3 separate regions of the Homo sapiens genome follow, and regions 1 and 2 are each linked to region 3. The links are contacts of gene promoters, found by promoter capture Hi-C in blood cells and fetal thymus (Javierre and others, 2016). All regions are on one chromosome and are shown on one strand. Each heading gives the region's core, a stretch centred on a gene start or on the middle of the fragment in contact. The rest is flanking DNA. Distances are from core to core; before and after follow the strand shown.

The links. The method cuts DNA at HindIII sites, captures the fragments that hold promoters and counts their contacts. A CHiCAGO score of 5 or more calls a contact.
Region 1: a contact is called between the fragment with the promoter of LMBRD1 here and the fragment with the promoter of PHF3 in region 3, in 3 of 17 cell types (non-activated CD4 T cells, naive CD8 T cells and activated CD4 T cells). The highest score is 12.4, in non-activated CD4 T cells.
Region 2: a contact is called between a fragment that was not itself captured here and the fragment with the promoter of PHF3 in region 3, in 1 of 17 cell types (naive CD8 T cells). The highest score is 5.7, in naive CD8 T cells.

Annotation. Positions count from the first base shown.
Region 1 is chr6:69,795,745-69,800,062 of GRCh38, forward strand. LMBRD1 (LMBR1 domain containing 1) reads right to left here and starts at 1,266. Exons shown (of 16, transcript NM_018368.4): 1 at 1,069-1,266. The coding sequence starts at 1,137. RefSeq lists enhancers at 217-773, 598-647, 774-1,329, 958-1,187. The HindIII fragment of the contact is 19,066 bases long and covers 1-4,318 here.
Region 2 is chr6:57,222,713-57,226,569 of GRCh38, forward strand. It overlaps a transcript of PRIM2 not described here. Among named protein-coding and RNA genes, the nearest start is that of RAB23, 2.3 kb to the left of the region's middle. The HindIII fragment of the contact is 1,459 bases long and covers 1,600-3,058 here.
Region 3 is chr6:63,632,971-63,637,065 of GRCh38, forward strand. It overlaps PHF3 (PHD finger protein 3), which reads left to right and starts at 2,832. Exons shown (of 16, transcript NM_001370348.2): 1 at 2,832-3,180. RefSeq lists enhancers at 1,520-2,057, 2,589-3,409 and silencers at 2,627-2,986, 3,427-3,606. The HindIII fragment of the contact is 3,030 bases long and covers 1,812-4,095 here.

The DNA.
Region 1 (4,318 bases), core at 16-2,515, 6.2 Mb after region 3:
CAAGAGGATCCTTTTCTTAAATTTTCACACCATTCTTTTCTTTTATTTTCTTTTTTTAGTCTCTACTGCAAAAATCTACTAGAACATACTACATAGGTACCAGACACCAACTGGATCTGACAATTAAAGTAAAACCAAACAAGCCTGATTTCCAGAACTGGAGGTTTTTGTTTTGCAATGCAAAAAGGTCAAAATACGTGAGAACAGAAAGTAACTACAGCCTCGGACGATGAGAAAAGAGAAGATTTGAGAAGGTAGAGAAGTTATGAAAGGAAATAAATTGAACTCCCAAATAAACCAAAGGGTTTTAATATGAACAGGGAAGTAATAGCCAGGCCACTCTGAGACATTTCTATCTACACTTTGCTCACTGAATATGCAGAAATAAGATCGTTGGAAAAGAAAGCACCTGAGGTCAGACAGGTAGTAGTATATACTCCGATACTGGTAATAAAGAGGGCTACAGCTCCGCCCTCCACAGGTATCTACACCAATCAAAAAAAGATTAGAAGAGAATGTGACACCTGGAAGTCAGAACGAGCAACTCACGTCATCAAGGCAGAATCACACAATGGGCACAGAGGTTGGAGACTCACTAGCCCCAAGGGTAGGGAAAATGAGGGAAAAAACATACAGAGAAGGTGACAAGTAAACAACGCCAGCGCCTACTTAACTTGCAAAGATCCAGCGCTGCCGCCCCACACCGTGTGACAATGTTTTACAGGGGACGAAAGGCCACCACATACTTCTCAACCCCGAGGGTCTCTTCCGCCCCCAAACCCCACCGGCCCCATTGCCCAAGTCAGCGATGACGGCAAGAGCTTCCAAAAAGGACCCTGCAACCCTAGACGTCATCGGTGAAATGACAGCAAAAGAGACCGGAAATCGACACCCCCCTGCCCCCGCCGCCCGCCCAAGCCCCCAACACTAAGGAGCCCTCCACAGTCCAAGCTAAAAGCGGGGCGGGGCGAAGAGGGTCTCCGGGGCCCGGAGAGGCCAACTGCAGGGCCTGCCCCTCCCTTCCTCCCCCAGTCCAAACATGGGGAAAACTCCAAGCGCCTCCCCTACCAGTAGTAAGAGGCCGAATATGCACCAGCCGATCACCAGCTCCGCCGAGGCCGCGCCAGAAGTCGCCATCTTCGCTTCCGGTCCAGACCAACCTGAGCGCCCGGGGTGGGGAAAGGGGAGGGGGAAAGGGGAGAGAGCGCGAGATATACTGCACCCGCGCACCCTAAAGGTTAAAGGGGCGGAGGGGGAGGAGCAAGTGGTTGCCAAGGAGACTGGACCCACTAGCGTCCCCTGGCGGCGAGCCGAGCGGGGGCGGGGCAGCAAGGACTGCTCAGGGGCGGGGCGCGTGCGGACGCAGTGACATCACCACGCTGCCCTCGCTGGCTTCCCTGCAAGCTGAGATGTGGGAGGGCTGCAGAGCAGGGTGTTGGCTCATAGCTGGGCAACCTATTGAGATATTTGACTCAGCCTAAGTTGATAGACTAGAACAGCAAGGGAACTCCACAAAGAATGGGCTAGGTGGACCTGGAGATCCAAGTCAATTTTAGAGGTTTATACTTCTTCACCAAAAGGAAGTTTGGCCCTCGTGTACAAGGTGGAATGTGTGTGATTAGCAGAACTCCTTACCAGGTTGCAAGAATGGCTGATGTCAGGCCTCTGAGCCCAAGCTAAGCCATCATATCCCCAGTGACCTTCACGTATACATCCAGCTGGCCTGAAGCAACTGAAGATCCACAGAAGTGAAAATAGCTTAGCTGATGACATTCCACCATTGTGATTTGTTTCTGCCCCACCCTAACTGATCAATGTTCTTTATAATCTCCCCCACCCTTAAGAAGTTTCTTTGTAATTCTCCCCACCCTTGAGAATGTACTTTGTGAGATCTACCCCCTACCCCCAAAACATTGCTCTTCACTCCACCTCCTATCCGAAAAACTGTAAGAACCAATGATAATCCCACCACCCTTTGCCGACTCTCTTTTCGGACTCAGCCCGCCTGCACCCATGTGAAATAAACAGCCATGTTGCTCACACAAAGCCTGTTTGGTGGTCTCTTCACACGGACGCATGAGACAGCTGACTCTGAATAAAAGTTGACTAGCTGCCCAAATCACTCTAATTTACTGGCACTGGTGCCCAGCCGGGATAACTGGTTGGCTGGACATGAACTTATCACATGATGTTATAGCCTTTCTATTCAGATGTATGCATGCCTGTGAATTTCCATGATAGCTTTGTATGTAAAGGTATATGCATCAGCAAACAAAACACACTGCCATAGGCCCACAATGAAGAAGAAGGAGGAAACTCTTGGGATGGCTTACCTGAGTCCACAGGGAGGAAACTCTTGGGATGGCTTACCTGAGTCCACAGGGGTGTGAGTGCATGTTTCACCACTGTGATGTAGTCAAGAAACAACTCTGAGAAAAAATACCATCATCTTTTTCCAATGTATTATGTGGTGATGAGTTATGCTCTACCTATAATCTACTTCCGGCTGGAAGCCTGAGGGAAAAAATAGGATGGTCCTTCCTGCCTGGACAGAATAAGAAGGGAATAGGGGAGAATACAGTTTTAACTTGAACTGGTACCATCATAAGCTGGCTTTAAGCCCTCTAGACCTGCAAATGTTTGAATTTCACTCTTTCTTCCTAATAATTCATATCCCTGGAGACCTCTGTCATAGCTTCCTTAAAGTGAAGAGAGGTATCGCTTCCAGGTTGATATCTCTATTCCAGATTGTATAGAGCACCCTTGACATAAGTAACTACTTCTTAGAAAAAGATTCTGTTTACATTTCAAAAGGAATCATGCCAAAAGGGACCAGATGTTCACCTAATCAATAGAGACTGCACCCAACCAGATAACGACATAACCAGGCACACTCTTTTATTATTATTATTATTATTATTATTATTATTATTATACTTTAAGTTCTAGGGTACATGTGCACAACGTGCAGATTTGTTACATATGCATACATGTGCCATGTTGAGGTGCTGCACCCATTAACTAGTCTTACATCAGGTATATCTCCTAATGCTATCCCTCCCCACTTTCCCCCACCCTACAACAGGGCCCAGTGTGTGATGTTCCCCTTCCTGTGTCCAAGTGTTCTCATTGTTCAATTCCCACCTATGAGTGAGAACATGTGGTGTTTGGTTTTCTGTCCTTGCAATAGTTTGCTGAGAATGATGTTTTCCAGCTTCATCCATGTCCCTACAAAGAACATGAACTCATCCTTTTTTATGGCTGCATAGTATTCCATGGTGTATATGTGCCACATTTTCTTAATCCAGTCTATCACTGATGGACATTTCAGTTGGTTCCAAGTATTTGCTATTGCAGGCACACTCTTTACTATCAGTCAACACCAGAGGACTCTGAGGCTATAAAAAGAGTAGAACTTCAACAGCTCAAGATAGCCATCTTAACAGACACTGTCTTACTGTCACTCATGATCAGCATCTAGCATCTGCCACCAAAGGTTCTGCTCAAATCAAAGACTCTTCCTTGCAAAATGTTGATATGCATCCTGATCAGCCGAGGACACTCTCCTTGTCCATGTTGCTCTCCTTGGATTGGTTAATCCTGTTTTCCTAACCTTTCTCTTGATGTTAAATGTTATTTTCTTTTAGAATGTTTAGCCTATAATATTTATATGTTATGTATACTACTATGTTTGGTTTGCAATATTGACTGACTTGTGGAGTGGCTAGAGCTTTGTGTCCTTGGTTCTGACTACCAAATGAATGGGTACTACTAAGGAAAATTACCTCCTTCGGACCTTCATACAGCTCATGGCTTTTATGATTGAAATAGCATCAACAAAAGTCTGACTGTGGAAAGACACAAACTTGCAGGGACTTGAGCCACTGACAGGTAGTCACTTATATCTCCTCCACAAGCCCCAGAGCATACTGAGGTATACTTAATTATTCCTTTTCCTGCTGAGGTCTTGTAATCTTCTTCTAGAAGCTCATTTAAGTTGGAGGAGAGGCCTAAGACAACCCCAAGCCAGTTCTTCCCCTTTCCCCAAATAGTCTAAATCCCCTCTGTAGGAATGATGATACATACCTTGCACCAACAACTTTGGGAGCACAGGCCAATCCCAATGTAGCTCCATTCTCCTAGTTCTACAATCAAAGGAATCAGCCCTTTTTGATTATACCCAAGAAAGTCAGCCCCTGATGCTACAGTCCACTGTAGTTCTCTCTACTGGGTCAGACACTAGCCCTCTGTGTCCTCAATTTCAGGGGCCATATTTCAAATTCTCCAAGTAGCTCCCTTGAGGCCTCCCTTACTAGGC
Region 2 (3,857 bases), core at 1,079-3,578, 6.4 Mb before region 3:
ACGAAAAGGTTCCGCAAAAGCAATCTCAACTTTGCTTCAGTTGTTTTTATATTTCAAAATAAAATAGAATAGAAAAAAAAGATGGAAAATACCAAGTGTTGGCCAGGATGTAGAGTAACTGCATTCTTCTACTTTGCTGCTGGAATGTAAACTGGAACAACTCCTTTGAAAAACAGTTTGGGACTGTCTGCAAAAGGTGCATACCCTATGGCCCCGCAGTTCCACGCCTGCATATAGAGCAAAGAGAAACGAATACTTAGGGTGCACGGACAGGCAGGTATCAGAATGTTCGTAGCTGCATTTATTGTAATAATTCCTTAATGAGAATAACCCAAAAGACCATCAACAATAGAATAAATTAATGAAATTACACAGAGTTCATATAATGAAACACTATACAGCAACGCAAAAAAGCATCTGCAATTACAGGCAATAACGTGAATCAACTGGGGAAACCTAATGCCCAGCATAAAAAGACAACAAAAGTACACATGGCATAAGTCCATTTCTATAAACTACAAAAACAGAAGAACTAAGAGGCTCAAAGTTAGCATAATGGTTACCTTGGTGGGCAGGGGATAGTGACTGGAAGGAGTTAGCGACTAGAAGAGGGGCTTCCAGTTAGCAACTGGAAGAGGGGCTTCCTTCTAGTGAGGTTCTCTCCGTTGATTTTGGCGCTAGTTATAAATGCGTGTCCATTTGTGAAAATTCAAGCTGTACTCTTATGCACATTTTTCTGTATGTGAATTATAATTCACACTTAATAATTTTAAAAATTAGTGGAGATTATTTTACCTATAATAGCAATAGTATTTGTAAGAAATTTAATATCAAGTAGCTAACAGATTTATCTCTAGGATTTGGTTGGCAGTATCTCTTAAACTTGAGTAACGTACTGATGCCCTTTCTGAGAAAAGAAAAAAAACAATTAAAAAGTTGGCAAATGACTTGAATAGACATTTCTCCAAAGAAGGTATACAAATGGCCGATGAGCACATGAAAAGAGACTCAAGGTCACTAATCATGAGGGAAATGCAACTCAAAACCATGAGATACAACTTCACACTCATTAAAATGATGATTATAAACAAAGCAGAACAGAAAATAAATATGAGTGTTGGCAAGGATGTGGAAAAATTATAACCTTTGTGTGCTGCTGGTGGGAATGTAAAATGGTACGGCCACTATGGAAAATTGTATGGTTCATCAGAACATTAAAAATAGAATTATCGTATGATTAAATAATTCCACTTCTGAGTATATATTCAAAAGAATTGAAAACAGGGACTCAAAAAAAAATTTGTACAACCATGTTTATAGCAGCATTATTCACAATAGCCAAAGGGTGGAAGCAACCCAAATGTCCATCAATGGATGAATGGATGAACAAAATGTAGTATATACATGCAATAAAATATTATTCAGCCTTAAAAAAGGAGGGACCCAGGTGTGGCGAGGTATCCCTGTAATCCCAGCTACTTAGGAGGCTGAGATGGGAGGATCACTTGAATCCAGGAGTTCAAGACCAGCCTGGGCAAATCCTGTCTCAAAAATAAAAGAGAGAGAGGGAAATTCTGACACATGTTATAGCATGGATGAAGCTTGAAGACATTATGCCTAGTCGCAAAAGGACAAATGCTGTATGATTCAACTTATATAAGGTACATAGAGTAGTCAAATTCATAGAGACAGTTGGGGGGTGGGAAGTGGTTGTGGGAAAGGAAGGGCAGGTGGGAATGGGGAGTTACTGTTTTATGTCTACAGTTCTAGCTTTGCAAGATGAAGAAAGTCTGGAGATAGATGGTGGTGATGGTTGCACAACGATGTGAATAAACTTGATGCTCTTGAACTTTATACTTAAAAATGGCTAAAAATGGTAAATTTTATGTTTTATGTATATCTTGCCAAATTTCTTTTTAATGGGAAAAAAAAAAAAGAAAATCTTAGAGGGTCTCAGGGAGTACTTCTGGGATCCAAATTTGAGAAAAACTTCCTGAAAGGGGGTTCCCCCAAAATCATTTCTTTCCTCCCCACTTTTCCATTTCCTTGGGATTGTTGGACATTGAAGGAGATCCAGAATATGCCACCCCAAAACATGCCACTTTGACACAAGCATTATTTGGAGTTGAAGGCAATTAAGAAACAGCAGAACAGAAGAAACACTCTGCTTTTCCTATTTCTGCCTAAAAGCAGGACATAAATTTCCCTTTGTGAAGTTGTTCCTCCTCCCCATCCCACACTAGGAGGAGGAGATTCCTATCACCAGAGCACCAACTTGAGTCATATGGCAAACCTTGCAAAATAACCCTTGTCTTCCAATAGTTTCCCTCATATAGTTTACTCGGCCACAATTTACCACCTTCACAAGTCCCACCCCTTTTTCCTTTGTCTTATCACTTCTCCACAATTTATCACCTTTTAAAAAAATGGTATATAAGCTCTTAGGCCTAACTGCTTTTTGGGGTTTTCACTTCCTTTCTGTGAGGCCCCCCATGTGCATATGAAATAAACCTTTTCTCCTGTTTATCTGTCATTTGTCAATTTAATTTGCAGGCTTCTGCTACTGAACTTACAAGAGTAGAGAAAAAGTGTTTATCCTCCCTGCAGACATGCTCAGTGCAATTAAAGTCTACTTTTTATTTGACTTGAGGCTGCTCTCAAGGACACAGCAGAGATTCTCATGCTCTCACTGAAGGCAGTGAAATAATGAAAGCCTGCATGGAAACCTGGCCTTTTAAATCATGTAGTTGTGCTATAGTAGAAATAGCAACAGAATTAACCTAAAAGGTTTTGAAAGAAATTTTACCTGCAGTGACTAGAAATGAGTTTCACAAAATTATTTTAAGGAAAACATTCTGAAAAGTTAGTTATTAAGTCATTAAATGATTGTTTGAATCTAGTACCTCCACTGATCCAGCAAAAAATGTCCATTTGTTCCCTTGCTCGTTCTTTCATTGTGTCTGACTCTAATGAACTGAACAGTGTCCAAGGATCATGAATTGTAGCTGAGTAGAAAGAAAAACAGAAAAATCAGAAAATATTTTCTTCCAAGAAAGAAAGCTTTGAAAATTTTACCACTTAGAATATAAGTCTGCATATACATATGAATGCATATGTGGCCATCTGGAAAAAACTAGTAGAAATCACAGTATTTGGCTAGACAATAATAATCTACTGTTCTTCAGATTCAAACAGATCATGCTGGAAAAAAAATTTTTTCTAGTACTTTCTAGGCAGACATTAGAGTACTGATTCAGTTTTTCTGTTGCTTAATAACCTTGGATCTTAGTATCCTCATCTATAGTAAGGAGTTACCCACCTTACAAGGTCATTTATCCATTAAAAAAAATACATATTGTGCCAAGGACTGTGCTGAACATTGGGTATTCAGTAATAGACAAAAGGCAGATGGTTTGTGTCCTCTGGGAGCTTATAATGTGTTAAGGGAGACCAAAAAAGAAAGTATACAAATACACACATATGCACACATATACACAAATAAGTGATTACATACCCTTAGACATTATGTGAAAGTAAATAACTGGTATGATGGAAGCATGTAAGAGGGAGCCCTAATTTATGTTGGAGAACCAAGGGAAGGCCTTTCTGATACAGTGATTTTTAAGCTGTTATCTGAAAGATAAATGAGTTTGGTGAAGAATAGACAGAAAAAGCCTTTAAGCAGAGACAGCAGGAAGTACGATGGCCTGAGGCAGCAAACAATTCACTGGGTTTGAATAATTGAAAGGGAGCCAGTGTGCAGGAGTGAGGTGGAAAGCGGTATGTAAAAAATAAAGAACAGTGGTGAGGGAAGCAGGGGCCAGATCATGAAGACCTTGCAGGTCATATTAGGTAAT
Region 3 (4,095 bases), core at 1,582-4,081:
CTCCCGGTGGGGCTTGCACTTCTTTTCACCCACTGTTTACTGCTGAAAGCCTGAGTAGCTATGGGCCATCTTTCCGGAGAAACTAGGAAAAAAAATGTGTGGAAGGCAGCAAGCCCACGATGTAAGAAAAAGTGTTGTAACTTAAGCCTCCAAGTTCAATGATGATCTCGGTAAAATGAGTTTGAGTTATTTTGTTTTTTGTCTCTGTCACTCTGATGCCCGGGCTGGAATGCAGTGGTGCCATCTCGGGTCACTGCAACCTCCACCTCCCAGGTTCAAGCCATTCTCCTGCCTCAGCCTCCAGAGTAGCTAGGATTACATGGGACTGCCACCATGCCTGGCTAATTTTTGTATTTTTAGTAGAGACGGCGTTTCACTATGTTGGCCAGGCTGGTCTCAAACTCCTGACCTCAGGTGATCCACCCGCCTTGGCCTCTCAAAGTGCTGGGATTACAGGCGTGAGCCACCGCACCCGGCTGAGTTTGAGATCTTTTGACCCCACTGTTTTGATTCTGTGTTTAAGCATACAAACATTTAAATCTATTCTAAATTAACACGAAAGTACATGTCTACAAAGTGTTTGCCAGAAAAAACTTCATTAAATAAATTTAATATTTTTATTGACTTTCTGCTCATAGGGGTTAATTCTTCCAATTTTTTTTTTCCATATTTAGTTTACTGATTACTGTAGGGACCAATGTTTCAGTGATGACAAGCATTTTTCATATCAAAATTGACTTTTGTGTCTACATTGTTTACTGTCTTCCATGGTCTTAATCTCTGCCAGGCTCAGTTTTCTTGGGTCAATGTTTTGCAAGATCCAAATTTTATCACTTTTCCTTCTTTGATAATTTTTTAGTTAAATACAAATACACTGTCAGTTTTAGTCATTATCAATTACTCTGTCTTGTTTTCCTACCAAATTTAATTTTCCCAAGTTAATTTGGAGTTTTCAATGTTACTGATACAATCTGATCTTCCAATAAGTCCTGTGTGCAGTTATAGCTGTTGCCAGTATTATTATGCTGGTTCTTTCTTCTACTAACCTTTCTATGAATTGGGTATAAGATAAACAGTTCGTGTTTACATCTGGAAGCAAAAAGCAAAGACCATTAGTGGACAAATGTGAATCTGGGCACTTGGCTGGTTCAAAATAACAGAATCAAAACATCATGCCTATGGCAAGCTTGTTGACTTTTTAAGGATCAGAAATCTTTGCTTTGTAAATGTGACAGTCTTATGATTCTTACATTTTCTTTTAATCTCCATTTTGTTTTATCTTAAATTTATTAAAACTTCTCTGAGAAGGTAAGTTTTCCTCAGCCCTTCTAAGGGATTTTCCAGCTAGTGGTCTCCGTCATCAAGTTCTACTCTGTTGAATTCCTTCGGGGTTGGATTTTGTTTATAACAATAATTTTACTTTTTCTGAACGCCCTTTTAAAACGTCACACTGAGATCCACCAGAAGAGTAAGAATAACATTAGGCTTGTTTTTATAATTCATCCCAGACATCCCAAGTGAGAATTAAAAAAAAAAATTACTCATTTCTATTTTCCTTTCTCAAAAACACATTACAAAAAGATTGTAAAACAAAGTCTTGAGGGATTGATTAGTCAAGACAGGGGGTGAAACTCTTAAGAATCCAGTGGAATCAGGACAACCCAAACTTCCTTTGTAGAAGAGCATTTGCTATTAAGAGTGCTTAAAATATCAGAAGACTAGAGAGAGGAAAGAACAGATCTTCACCACATGCCTGTGACTTATTCTTCCACCCTGCACTAATCTTACAATGTGGGCTGCGGTTGGTCTAAAGCTTAAATCAACAAGTACTGTAAAGGTTTTAGAACAGTGCAGACCACACAGTAAGGTGCTCAGCAGGTACTGGCTGAATACTGTAATAGTCCCTGTAGATAAAAGCCACAAACCCTGTCCCTAAGTAGCTCCTTTTGGTTGGAGTGACTGACAAGCAACAATTACTTCACAGCGCTTATTAAGGGCTGAGATAGGGGTTAGCTCAAGTGTCTGTGGAAGCAGACCAGTGGGTCTCAAACTTTTTTTGTCTCTGGACCTCTACACAATATTTGTTACCACAAATAATGTATTTATGAAAAGCATATTTTCCAAATTAATAAAAGGGTGATATCTAAAATTTCTGCAGATTTCCTCAATGTCTGGCTTAATAGAAGATGGCTGGATTCTCTTATCTGTTTCTGCATTGAATCAGCTGCTATATGCTGTTTTGGTTGAAGGGTGGGAAGAAAATTTGGCCTTAGACACATGCTCCTGGCAAAGGAATGGAGGCTCTACTGAAAGGTCTTGGCGACCCCTCAGGGAAACCTGGGACCACATTCTGAAGACTGCTTACTGGATACCAAGAATGTTTCTTGGAGGTAGCAATTTGAGTCCTGAGGTAGATCAGCCATGTAGGGTGAGGGTAACGGAGGTAGTTAATGGTAAGGCTGCTGTGCCGAGCCAGCACAGATATTTGGGCAGAGGGCTCATCTACTCCATCCTATTCTACCATTCTTGAACTCACAGTCAATTAATAAAAAGTACCTGGGGTTGGGGAGCTGCGCATCAATATTATATTAACTGTGAAGCCTTAGTGCTTACTACGGTCGAGAAAAAGCGCTCCTCTGATTCGCCCCTCCCGGCGGCGCGGAGGTGTGAGCTAGAAGCCCGCAGGCGGTGCCGCGTCCTCCGAAGACAGGGAGGGGCGCGGCAACGCCGGGAAGCGCTGCAGCCCGGGGCCCCACGGAGGCGCGGCGCTCGAGGCCCTAAAGCGCGCAGGCGCGGCAGCGACGCAGGCCGCGGCCCCCGGAACGGTAAACAGTGGGGTCACGTGACACGGCCCCTCTCCAGCTCCCGCGCCGCCGCCGCACGCCGATGGCTGCGGGGTCTCGCGCCGTCGCACCGTCCCCACGCGGCAAGCGACCTTCGGGCTCAGGGCGGCGGCGGCTGCAACGAGGATTAGGAGGGCGGCGCGGAAGCCAAGAATAGTGTCGTCAGCAGCAGCCATTTGGTCCCAGGAGGAAAAGAGGCTGTGGCAGCGACGCCGACGTCCTGCGCGTACCCCCTCTCCGCGGCACCCACCGGGCCCCCTCCTCCTCCTCTTCGGCGGCGGCAGCGTCCACCATCTTCCTCTTGCTGCCAGTGGTAGCGCTCGTCTGGCGGAGCTGGGTGAGTTGCGGCTGTGGCCGCGGCCAGGGAGACGGGCAATCCTCCCCTCCCCCATCCCCTTCCACACGCACAGCGCCTCCGCGGGCCTCTCCGCCCCTCCCGCGGCGGACTCTCCGCGCTTTTCTCCCGCGCAGCCGAGAGATCGCCTCTCGGGCCTCTTGCGCAACGTCCTCGGCCTACCTGGGCCGCGCCGCTGGCGCCTGTGGACCATTTGGACCGCGGGCTGGGGAGGGAGTCGCAGCGACGCGGTCGCCAGGCGGAGGGTCGGGACCACGGCCTCTCTCCCGACCACTGGTACCCAGCCGTCTGCTGCGAGGGCGCCCCGCCGCCGCTGAGGCGCGGGCGCGCAGGCCCGAGGCACGGCGGGCGCTGCCTGGAAGGCCCGTCTCGCAGGCCCCCGGATCCGGCCGTTGGGGCCTCTTCCTTCTCAGGGAGCCCCAGCATGGAGCTTTGGGCCTTGGTTTCGGGAAACTGGGACTGGCCCTGGCTGCTAGGCTGCTCCCTGCTGCTGCTTTTTGGAGATGAGAGTTGCTCTTCCATTTATCCTCCAGTTACCGCGCGCTTTTGTGCCCGGGACTCAAACTGTGGACTCCTTTTGCTTAGTTTGAAATGAGAAGCCTAGACTCTTGCCTTCCGATAATACATGTAATTTAATGAACCACTTGTCGATACGTACGTGTTAATGGTGCTAAATAACTGATCACCTGACACGGGGGGCGGGGGCGGTGCGGAGAGTAGAAAGGAAGAGAATGTTGATATCGCGCACGGAGTCCTGTGTCCCTCCTTTCCCTCAGGATGTGTTGCCGGGTTAGGTGACCTTTTTCCATCTTTGGGCTTTTAAATGCCAATTCCTAGAGACTAGATTGGGGTGGTTATTAGTGCTTTCCAGTAGTCACGCGTAGAATATGTTCATGG